Linked DNA regions of Homo sapiens: regions 1 and 2 are each linked to region 3. The links are contacts of gene promoters, found by promoter capture Hi-C in human tissues and cell types (Jung and others, 2019). All regions are on one chromosome and are shown on one strand. Each heading gives the region's core, a stretch centred on a gene start or on the middle of the fragment in contact. The rest is flanking DNA. Distances are from core to core; before and after follow the strand shown. Region 1 has its middle 15 kb from the start of CRY2. Region 2 has its middle 3.3 kb from the start of TTC17. Region 3 holds the start of CD82 (CD82 molecule).

Evidence for each region. The method cuts DNA at HindIII sites, captures the fragments that hold promoters and counts their contacts. A contact is called where the count stands out against the background at its distance.
Region 1: a contact is called between a fragment that was not itself captured here and the fragment with the promoter of CD82 in region 3, in 1 of the 25 tissues and cell types used here (mesenchymal stem cells).
Region 2: a fragment that was not itself captured here is called in contact with the fragment with the promoter of CD82 in region 3 in 1 of the 25 tissues and cell types used here (aorta).

Annotation. Positions count from the first base shown.
Region 1 is chr11:45,830,575-45,834,581 of GRCh38, forward strand. No RefSeq gene overlaps it. Among named protein-coding and RNA genes, the nearest start is that of CRY2, 15 kb to the right of the region's middle. The HindIII fragment of the contact is 5,925 bases long and covers 1-4,007 here.
Region 2 is chr11:43,353,726-43,357,489 of GRCh38, forward strand. No RefSeq gene overlaps it. Among named protein-coding and RNA genes, the nearest start is that of TTC17, 3.3 kb to the right of the region's middle. The HindIII fragment of the contact is 5,525 bases long and covers 1-3,764 here.
Region 3 is chr11:44,563,842-44,568,064 of GRCh38, forward strand. CD82 (CD82 molecule) reads left to right here and starts at 1,822. Exons shown (of 10, transcript NM_002231.4): 1 at 1,822-1,895. RefSeq lists a silencer at 1,321-1,920 and enhancers at 1,835-2,335, 2,841-2,910. The HindIII fragment of the contact is 10,159 bases long and covers 1-4,223 here.

The DNA of each region.
Region 1 (4,007 bases), core at 189-2,688, 1.3 Mb after region 3:
AACAAATGAGCAGGGCTGTGTTCTAATACAATTTCACTTACAAAACAGGTGATGATGGATGAACCTTGTAAGCATTATGCTGAATGAAGAAGGCAGGTTCAAAAGACCACATATTGTCTGATTCCATTTATAGGAAATGTCCAGAATTGGCAAATCTCTATAGACAGAAAATAGATCCCTGGCTGCCTAGAGCTGGGGGTGTGAGGTGAGGGAAAATCTTCTAAAATTAGATGGTGGTGGTGGTTGCACAACTCTGTGACTAGAATAAAAAGCATTGAATTGTACACTTAACTGGGTGCATTTTTTGATATGTAAATGATATCTCAATAAAGCTGTTTAAAAAGAAGAGTACACCGATGTTCATAGCAGCCCTATTCACGACAGCCAAAAGGTGGAAACAAGTATCTGTCAATGGATGAATGGATAAACAAAACGTGATGTAGACCTACAATGGAATATTATTCAGCATAGAGCAGAATGAAGTACTGATACATGCTGCAGCATGGATGATCCTTGAAAATATGGGCTAAAGTGAAAGAGGCCAGACATATGAGGTTCCCAGAATAAGCAAATTGATAGAGACAAAAATAGAATAGAGGTAACTGAGATCTTGGGGCAGGGGGAATGGGGAGTTATTGTTTCATGGGTACAGAGTTTCTATTTGGGATAATGTACAAGTTATGGAAATGGATAGTGGTGATTGTTGAACAACACTGAATGTACATAATGCCTCTGCATTGTATACTTAAAAATGGTCAGGCCAGGTGCGGTGGCTCACACCTGTAATCCCAACACTTTGGGATGCTGAGATCAGAGGATTGCTTGAGCCCAGGAGTTCGAGACCAGCCTGAGCAACACAGCAAAGCCCCATCTCTCCAAAAGGAAAAAAAAAATACAAAAATTAACCAGGCATGGTGGCACACACTTGTGGTCCCAGCTACACAGCTGGGACCCAGCTACACTACTGTTACAACAGGAGGCTGAGGCAGGAGGATGGCTTGGGCCCAAGAAGTCGAGGCTGCAGTGAGCCATGATCACACTGCTGTACTCCAGCCTGTGTGACAGAGCAAGACCCTGTCAAAAAAAAAAAAAAGATTAAAATGGTAAATTTTATGCTATGTGTATATTTTACCACAATTTTTAAAAACTGAAGAAAATGAAACAGGATGGAGGTGAGGCAAGGACAGAACATCAGGGTGGCTGGTGCACACAGAAAGCAAAGTGGAGCATGAGGAGGAAACTAACAAGGTGGATGGAGGCAGCTTATGCAGGGCCGCATGGATAGAAAGGAACGGGCAGATTCCAAAAAGATCCAGACCAGGGAGCCAGGACCAGGACACTGCAAGGATCCTCAAAGGAGGAGGCCAGTAGAAGAGGACAAAAATGACCAGCAGCATCCCTAGGAACAGGCTCTGCTCTCCCCACCACACCACCCCTACTGTGCCTACCTGCAGTCAAGGCTGTCCCCCACACTGTCTTGTCCAGAGCATGTGAACAGTCCTACCCACCCACCCACACAGACACCCCAGCACCCAGCAGGGCCTGCACACAGTGAGCACTAAGAAATGTTTGTTTCTTAAACAACAAGAACAAAAAGAGCAAATGAGCACATCACACTCTATCGTGTAATTGTGCTGGGATTACTTAAGATTTTTCTTTTTAAATTATTATTATTATTATTATTATTTAATTTTGAGACGGAGTTTCACTGTTGTTGCCCAGGCTGGAGGGCAATGGCACAATCTCAGCTCACAACAACCTCCACCTCCCGGGTTCAAGTGATTCTCTTGCCTCAGCCTCCCTAGTAGCTGGGATTACAGGCATGTGCCACCACATCCAGCTAATTTTGTATTTTTAGTAGAGACGGGGTTTCACCATGTTGATCAGTCTGGTCTGGAACTCCTGACCTCAGGTGATCCACCCACCTCGGCATCCCAAAGTGCTGAGATTACAGGCATGAGCCACCACATCCAGCCAAGATTTTTATTTTCTGATTGGCTTTTCTGTGGACTTGCCAACTTGTTTAAAATGAACTTACACTACTTTTACAACTGGAAAAACAAATTCCATTACACAAATAAACAGAAACCCAGATGAAACTGTTGGACCTACCCTCTTTGGGATTTTTGGGCCCATTTCTGCTCAGAGCCTACCCCCGCCTTCTCTGCTCATTTGGGATCTGCTGGTTTGACTTGGCCCCTTAACCCTTGGCCCATCCTGTTCCTCCATTTCCATCCCCCACCACATCAGGTCCTCCTGTCTGGGTCAGATTTTTTGGATCAACCCACATGATCGCTCCCTCAATCTCCAAGGCATTTACCTCCAGCTCCGTAGTTCTCAACTAGGGGCGATTTGGCACTGTCTGGAGACATGTGGCTGTTACAGCTGGAGAGTTGCTATGGAATCTGGTGGGTGGGGGCCAGGAATGCTGCTAAACATCCTACAGTGCTCAGGACAGCCACCACAGCAAAGGACCGTCTGGTCCAAAATAACAAGATTGAGAAAAACATACCTGAGCCAGTAACGATAATAACGTGATCATCCTGACCGTCATTCAACAAGAAGCTTCTATGTGCAAGGCACTGTGCGGTGTGCATTACACAATTTAGCAATCAGAATCCTTGCAACAGCCTTCAGAGGAAGGTAAGATTACTATCTCCATTTTATAGATAAGGAAACTGCAGCTCAGAGAAGGTAAGTAACTTGTCCAAGGCCACACAGCAAATATCCGAGCTGGAATTTGAATCCAGGTCTATCTGACTCCAAATCCCATTAAAAGCCCCTAAGGGGCCCTCAAACACACACACTCCTCTTTCTTCCCTTGAGCTTTAAGAATGGTTACTGTTTTCTTGAGCAACAACCTGTAAAATTTCTGTTTTGAAATTAAACAAGGTTACGTGCCCCTGTTCTGTTGGTTGGAGACCCTCCTCTTGGTTTTGCTTTCTTGTGTTTGCTTTATTTATTTATTTATTTATTTACTTATTTATTTATTTGGGCAGGGTCTTGTTCTGTCACCCAGGTTGGAGTGCAGTGGCACCATCATACCTCGTTACAGCCTCAAACTCCTGGCCTCAAGTGATCCTCCCGCCTTAGCCTCCCAAAGTGCTAGGATTACAGGCACAAGCCACCACACCCAGCCTGTTTGTACTTTATTAATATAGAGTCCACTATGGAGGCAGCACCTTGTCTCTCAAGGAGAAACTAAGGGCAGCTTTTCTGAGTGGTGGAAGTGAGTAAGGGCTCAGTCCCAGGTGATCTGAGCATAGCCTCCTGTGAACCCAGAAAATCTGAGACTGGTCTCAGTTAATTTGGAAAGTGTACTTTGCCAAGATTGCAGACACGCCCGTGACACAGCCTCAGGAAGTCTTGACAACAGATGCCCAATGTGGGCAGGGCACAGCTTGGTTTTACACATTTTAGGGAGACATGAGACATCAATCAATATATGTAAGAAGTACATTGGTTCAGTCTGGAAAGACAGGAAGACTCGAAGCAGGGGAGGGGGCTTCCAGGTCACAGATAGGTGACACACAAATGATTACATTCTTTTGAGTTTCTGATTAGCCTTTCCAAAGGAGGCAATCAGATATGCATTTATCTCAGTGAGCAGAGGGGTGACCTTGAATAGAATGGGAGGCAGGTTTCCAGCTGGAGTTTTGCTTAGTGATTTTGGGGGCCCAAGATATTTTTCTTTCACACCTCCCGTTCCCTTCCACCATCCCTTGACTCCATGATCTGATGGCCACAGCTGGAAAGGAACATCCCATCTACTCACAGTCAGCTGTGGCGAAGATAAGAAAGCACTCACATGCCCATTTATTTGGCCCTTTGTTCGAGGTTACCAGGTCAGGGTGCCAGGCAGGAGGCCAGGCCCAACTTTACTCAATGTCTCCTCCTCCCGTGCTGTTGGACAAATAGTGCAAGCCCCAGTAAGACTTAACAGAAGGATGCTACTAGCTACTTCCTGCCTCCAGTGAAAACCTGCCTGTGGCTTTAAGAGCTTAGGT
Region 2 (3,764 bases), core at 515-3,014, 1.2 Mb before region 3:
CCTACTCAAACATGCTGTTTCTCCTATCAAGATAAATCTGTGTCCATCCACACTTGAATTTGGGCTAAGCTTGTTACTTTCCTTAACCAGGAGAATGCAGAATGATGCTTTACCACTTCTGGGGCCTGACCCTCTGAAAGCCTGGCAGCTTCCTTTTATTCTTTCAGCACCCTGAGCCACCCTGTAAGAAGTCTATGTAACTCCTTGTCTAAGAGAGGCCCAGCTACCCCCAGCCATTTCAACCACTCCAAGTAAAGCACCAGACATGGTGGAGCCAGTTTGGAACATTTCAGCCTCAGCTGAGCTCCTAGCTGAATGCAGCCTTAAGAGTGACCCCAGCCAACACCAGGAGTAGCAGAAGAACCACCCAGCTGAGTCCAACAAACTGAAAAATAATAAATCATGTTTTAAGGCTTAAAATTTAAACCTCTAAGACTTACATTGGTTTTATTACAAAGCAAAAGATAACAGAATGTAAGCCAGAGTGTTACCCTCCTCCCTAGGGGTATTTATATCTTAAATATTTTCTCTAAGGAATAGGCAGTATGTAAATCCTTTGCAATTTTCAGGTAAGGTGGCCCAAGGGAGGACGTTAATCCAGAAAGATCATTCATTCTATCAACAGAATGAATTCTAATTCATAACTTCAAGAATTCTATGATTTATAGTAATAGTAAATAAAAGACCTATTTGCTAAAATATGTTGAAAGACTAAATTACATGCAGTTAGGGACTTGCCTATCATTCGTTGAACTAACAATTGAATCACAATTTGAGATATCAGCAATTTTGTCAACTGCCATCCTGTATTTCTATAAATTTCATCGAAGAGGAAAAGTATAATGAAAAAAGAAACATCAGATCTTAGAACAACAGAATAAAAGAACGGTGACAAGTGATCTGGATGTAGAAAATTAGTAGGAACAATTTTATTTAAGTTTTTTGTTTTATTCACACAAAATGGGAATGCTACATTTGGGGGAGCTAAAAAACTGAGTCAACAAACTATTTTGCACAGAAGTTCCAAGGAAGATAAAAATGTTAGTATAGGAAATGCTTCCTGCCCTCAGTTGCTAGTGTAGGTAATTATAGAATTGCAAGATGACAGGTCCCTGGATGGCCTTGGCCATGCCAGCTCTTCCCCCTCTTGCTTGCAATTTTCAGGCAGAATGTACTGAGAATGCAACATCCTGAGATAAGGAGGAAGCTTCCAGAACAACCTGGGCTGCGTCCTCATTTTTCCTAAAACAGGATGTTCTGCAACACTTGTACTCAGCAATCTCAGTTACACCCAGGGTATAAAACCCAAAGTGTTTTTGGAGTCCCTCATCTGTGCTGCAACATGGGGTATGTGCAGATGAGGCTCCATCTGCCCTAAGCAGCTTTCCTGAGCCATGGGATCAGCTAACCATGGATCCTCCATTTCTGTGTATCTTTGCTGCCTATTTGTAAAAAATTTGCTTTGCCTGACTTACTGTTTGAGTGTTCTGCCTCACCAGATTAGAACTAAGAACTATTGCAAGAACCACTCAAGAGTTTGGCTGTTCAAAGTTTATAAAATAATATCACAAAGCAGCATAGTATTGTCATATTACTGACAGAATTCAGAGGTGGCAAACAAGTTGACAGACATTTTTGCAGGCTAGGATTTCAACTGTATCTTAAATAGATTTGAGAAAGCAGCATGAGGAAAGGATTTTAGGCAGGGAACAGGAGCAAAAGTATGTCTAAATTAGTCTGTGATACTTAAAACAGTTCAGTGAAAGACTAGAAGAATGGTACTTGGCAGTCAAGATCTGTGGTAGGCAAAATTCTAAGATGATACCCAATGGTCCTTGCCCGCATAAAATCTCCCCTACGTATATTAAAACATCATGTTGTACACTAAATATATACAATTTTGTCCATTTCACCTTAATAGAGTAGAAAAGGGGGAAATTTCCTAACTTGACTATGTGGGTAAAACATGAATACGATATCACTCCTGTGATCATAGGTTTGGATGTGGTTAGGGCCGCCAAAACTCATGTTGAAATTTGGTACCCAATGTGGCAGTGTTGGGAGATGGGGCCTAGTGGAAGGTTTCTGGGTCATGGGGGTGGATCTGTCATGAACAGATTAATGCCCTCACGGTGGTGGGGGGGGAGGTGAGTTCTTGCTCTCTCAGGAATGAATTAGTTCTCGAGTGTGGGTTGTTAAAAGAGTTTGGCTTTCTTGATTTGTCTCTCTTGCTGCTTCTCTCAACATGTGATCTCTATGCACACCCACTCCCCTTCTGCTTTCCTCCCTAAGTGGAAGCAGCGTGAGGCCCTTACCAGATGCGGCTGCCCAATCTTGGACTTTTCAGCCACCAGAATCATAAGCCAATTAAACCTCTTTTCTTTATGAATTGCCCAGCTTTAGGTATTCTGTTATAACAACACAAAATGGACTAAGATAATGTTATATGGCAAACGAAATTTTTGCAGATGGCATTAAAGTTACTAATCAGTTGAATAAAAAGGGATATTATTCAGATAGACCTTATCAACTCACATGAGCCCTTTAAGTCTAGGCTTAGAGATAGAGGAATTCAAGAGATTTCAGCAGTGGAAATATTCTGCTTGCCTTCAAGGAATAACTGCCATTGTGAGAGCCACATGGCAGAAAACTGTGGGTAGCCTCAATGTTAATGGCCACAATCAGCAGCCAGTAAGAAAATGGAGCCCTCAGTCCTACATTGGCAATAAATTGAATTCTGCCAAGGACTTGAAGAATGAGCTTGACTGAGGAACCCCAAGCCTCAGATGAGATTGCAGCCTTGATATGAGCCTTGTGACACTGAGCAGAGAACTCAGTCACACCACAGCAGAAGACTTTTGCCCCAAGGAAACTGTCAGATAATGTGTTAAGCTAAGTTTGTGGCAATTGTTACACAGCATTAGAAAACTAATACAGGATCCCAAAAGATAAGAGTTATCATCTACAGAAAATAGGTGGTATAATAAAGCTATAGAAGCTATAATTCCACCCCTTTAGAGGTTAACTTGTGAAGGTCAAAGAAATTGCTGATAGCAAAATATGTGATGCTGGGGCCTTTCTCAAATTCCTCACTAACATTCATTCATTCTCAGGCTCTCAGATCTAGAGTCAGGTGGATCTGAGTCCAAACCTGAGCTCTACCACTTAGCAATATGATCTTGGCCAACTTACTTAACTAGCCAGAGCTTGGTAAGTTGTGACGATTAATAGGAACTATGCATGTACAGGACCCAGTACGTATTAAACACTCAAGAAATGTTAGATGATGATGATGTCAGCTTTATACACAAGAAATAGGGTTGACCTCTATGCCCCAAAAATAAGATGCTGAGACAAAAGGGATTCCATCATTTGCCACTTCTCTATTTTAAAATTCTGAAACACTCCCTATTGCCTATGTCTAAACTCCAAGAAACTCTTAAAACATGCCACTGACTTCACCTTTTCGTTTCTTGAGACGGATTCTCGCTCTGTCACTTAGGCTGGAGTGCAGTGGTGTGATCTCGGCTCACTGCAATCCCCGCCTCCCGTGTTCAAGCAATTCTCTGCCTCAGCCTCCCAAGTAGCTGGAATTACAGGTGCCCGCCACCATGCCCGGCTGATTTTTGTATTTTTAGTAGAGGCGGGGTTTCACCATCTTGGCCAGGCCAGTCTTGAACTCCTGACCTCAGTGATCCATCCACCTCGGCCTCCCAAAGTGCTGGGATTACAGGCGTGAGCCACCGCGCCCGGCCAACTTCACC
Region 3 (4,223 bases), core at 572-3,071:
CACTGCTGGGTTTAAAGGATTCTCCAGCCTCACTTTTCTGACTTGGTGTGGGAATGCTATGAAGGAGACTTTTTGCTGAAAAGAGAACATTTTCTGAGCATGTACGGCATTCAAGCGGTGGGCCAAATACTTTATGAATGCTGTCACATGTAATCTTCAACAGCTACCATCAAGATCGGTATGATTGTTATGGCTCATTTTATTATTATTCCCTGTTTAAGGGCTCATCCCAGAGGTTAAGTATCTTGCCTTGTCCTGGGTTTAAAACGCAACCAGGAAGCTACCTAGGTCTGTGTGATTCTCAGACCACCCTGACTTCTTTACAGTTTGCTCAACAGTGGTTCATGCTTGAATGTGATTCAGAATCACCTGGAGGCCTTATTAAAACCAATTGTCCCACAGTTTTCCATTCAGTAAGTTGGGATGGGGCTTCAAAATACGCACTCCTAACAAGTTCCCAGATGATGTTGCTCCTGGTTCAAGGACCACGCTGTGAGAACTACAGTGCTGGGCTGGGATCCAGCTCCCGCCCTTACTCCACTCGTACAAAGCGCTCATAATCATACCCTCCCACAACGGTGTGTTGTGAGAGGACATTGTGATAATGGAAGTGAAAGAGCTTTGTCAGCTGCACAGGTGAATGCCCCTGGTCATTAACCAGGTAATCTGCCTGAGGCTAGTCCTCTGGAGCCTGGGAGGGCAGAGGGCTGGGACGCAGGGTGGGCACCGCAGCCACCTAGAGAGCTCTTGCAGCCCACCTCAATTTTGGGCCACTTTTTCTTCAGGGAGAAAGCCAGCTTTGAGGGCTTAGGCCCACAGCCCCTCCTGCCACTATTCTCATCAACCCACACCTCCTCCCTCACCTCAGGCAGCTGCTGGGCACTGCCCCAGCACTGGTTGTTCTGGGCTACTTCCCCAGGGGCCAGTCCAGGCAAGCTGGGGCAGCTCAAGCCTGTGACTCAGGACCTGAGGCTGGATCCCGCTCACGCCCGCCTCCATGAGATTCAGAGCCCTCGACTTCCCTTCTCTGAGCCTTAAACTGCGCATTAGTAAAATAGGCGCAACGAGAGTACCCATGAGTTGTGGGAATTCAAGGGCTAGAACTGTATTCAGCGCTTGGCATAGAGCCTGGCCCCTGGCAAGGATTCAATCAATGGTAGTCAGTATTTTCAAAAAGTTCCTGGGCCCAGGCCGCCTCCTGATAGAGGCCCCGACTTAGGACACAAACCGCTCCCACGCCGTTCCCCGGCGGCACCCGGATACACCCGCCCTGGAATGCCAGCGTGGGGGCCCCAGGGCTACCCGCCCGAGATGAGAGGGGCAGGGCAGGGCAGGATTAGGAAGGCGCTGAGCCCAGGCTGGTGCGGGGAGGGGCGTGGCCTCACCCTACTAGGGCCGGGGGATGGGGTGGGCTCGAAGGAGAAAGTGAAGGAGGCGGGGGCGCTGGGAGGGCCCGGGAGGAGACCGGGAGGACGAGGTAGGCGGGAGCTGGGCGGGACCGTTAGGCAGCGCCGTGAGTGGACAGGGCTGGAGCGGGGCGGGCTTAATCCCCAGTGTAACCTGGGGGCGGGGCTGCCGGGATAGAGGAGAGACTCCGTAGCGGGGCGGGGCCTCAGCTCCAGCTGGGCCCGGGGGCGAGGCTGGTTGGGGTACGGCCATAGTGGGCGGGGCCTGGCCGGCGGGAGCGCACCGCCTTCCCAAAGGGCTCGGGGGCGGGGCCGGCGGAGGGGGCGTGTCTTCTGGGGGCGGGGCCTGCCGAGTCCGCGGCGTTCCCCGGCTGCAGCCGGGAGGGGGCCGAGGAGTGACTGAGCCCCGGGCTGTGCAGTCCGACGCCGACTGAGGCACGAGCGGGTGACGCTGGGCCTGCAGCGCGGAGCAGAAAGCAGAACCCGCAGGTGAGCAAGGGGGCAGCGGGCCGGGGTAGCCTGCCGGACAACCATAGGCAAAGTTAGTTTTAGCCCCCGCTTCTGCGGTCCGGCTCGGACAACTTTCCTCGGAACTAGTGACAGGTCGGGGCAGCTGGTGGGTGAAAAGGAGCTTTAGCCACCAGTCCTGAACCCCCAGTTCTCACACTCGGCCGTGCACAGCTGCGTGATCCTGGGTCCGTCCCTCTACCTGGCTCTGGACCTCCCGGGTTCCAGCAGGAGGAAGTGAACCAGGTGAATTCCACGCTCCCGTTGCCCTTTCTCACTTAAAACGCCGGAAGGTGAGAGCTGGCAGGTGAGAGCAGGCTGCAGGTCGCCACAGGTGTTCCCATCGCGTTGCCCTCTGCAGTTTCTCTCCCTGCAAAATGGGACTGAGAGAAGCGAATTGCTTTAAAGAGTGCACTGTTTCCTCGGTTGGGGCTCGAACCCACCAACCCTGGGGAAGAGGAGGCCAAAGCAGGGAGGTTCCATTTCCCGCCTCACCTGCTTCCCACCAATTCTAACAGTTCAACTGAGCCGGACCCCCTAAGACTTCAAGTTGGAAACTCAGTGGGGCTTTTCCAGGTGAGCTGGCCTGAGCAGGAGGTTGGAAACTGGGGAACAGTTCTTACACTGGTGAGTGGGGAAGAGAAGGGAAAACCCCACCAATCCTTGGGCCCAGGGTCAAGCCCAGGGCCCCAGGGGCCCTTGAAGCATACCCGGGGTTAATTTCTTGGCTGACGGGTTCTGTTCCTGGAGGTGGTGGGTGCTCTGTGCTGGGCCCCAGTAGCGGGGCAGCATAGTTCTGTGGTCAAGGCTTGGGCTTTGGGATCAAACTGATTTGGATTCCATTCCCCCTCCAAACTTCAGTTTCCTCACCTGTAAAATGGGGATAATGACAATATCCAATAGCAGGAGCAAGCACTAAATAGAATAATGTGTATACACTACTTAGCAAGGTGCCAGGAAACCAGTGAGACCTCCCTCTGTGACAGCTGCTTTGATGCGGGTGGGCAGGTGATGGGCTTGCTTCCTATGGGGAATGAGCCTTTTTTTTTTCTTGGAGAGATGGGGTTGGCTACAGCCCCTCCTGACCTTGTGAAAGCCAGAAATTGCCACCTGCCACCAACATCACTCTATTTGAGGGATGAGGACTGTGTCATCTGGAACAAAGAGTGGCTGAGTTTTCTGTAATGTTGCTTGAGGTTGGTAAGTGTTGAGTTAAATAAGTCTAAAAATGTTTACTGAGCACCTACTATATGCTAGAGAGAGCTAGAGGATACAGAGGTGAACTAGCCAGGCCTGAGTTGCTGACAATGAGGGCTCCCCCATCCCTACCATGTCCCTGTAGAGAGGATCAGTCACACCCAGGGCTTATAACCAGATGAGATTTCATGGGTCTGTTCTGCCCTGGTGGCTGGAATCCAGCTATACCATTGCACACTTGGCTTGGGATGGGGGCGAGGGGCAATGTGGGCACCCGATATCTAAGCAGGGTTGGACACTGAAGGACGCTGAAGGTGCTGCATTATATTGGCTCCCTGCATCTTCTGGGAGATAAGCTGTACAGTATGGAACAAACTGGAAAGTGCTGTGGGACAGAGACGGACTGGCGGCTGCGCTGTGTGCAGGAGACTGTGTGTGTATGTAGGGCAGGGGGAGGTGTTCAGAAGAGTGAGACACTTGAGAAGCCAGGGCAGGGGGTGGGGGTAAGGAGGCTTCCTGGAGGGGGTGAGACTTGAATAGGACTTTCTCTCTGGGCTCCTGGTCCTGGTTTGGCTTGGATCAACATGGGACCACAGTCTCTTCAAGCACTGAAGTGGCATAAATTGGAGTTTGGTATGGTGGGGAGGGAGAGGGTCTGGTAGGTGGTGCCTGAGGTGGGGAGGAGGAGACGTTCATTTCAACAGAGCCTACCTAGTGAGCCTTAATGGAAAGCCCTCCCCACCACCACCCCCACTTCCTGCTCGATGAATGACAAGCGACCACATAAGGCCTGCACCCTCAGGTTGCTTACCATCCGGGAAGGGGCTTACACAAGAATACCAGGGACTCTGATGGAAGATAAATGAAAAAAGGATTAGAGGGATCTTCAGGGCCTTACAGACTGGGAAGATTTCGGCAGCCAGAATGAAGATAGTGTCTTGAGGAGAGGAAAATGCCTAGGCAGAGGCAGGGAGGTCAACCTGTCCTGAGAATTCTCGAGAAACCTCTAGGTTGCTCATTCTGGCTGAAGTTTGGGAACGTGTGGGGATATGCAGTGGGAATAGTAGGTGGGATCAGCTTACGGAGGGCCTTGAATGACAGGATAAGAACTTT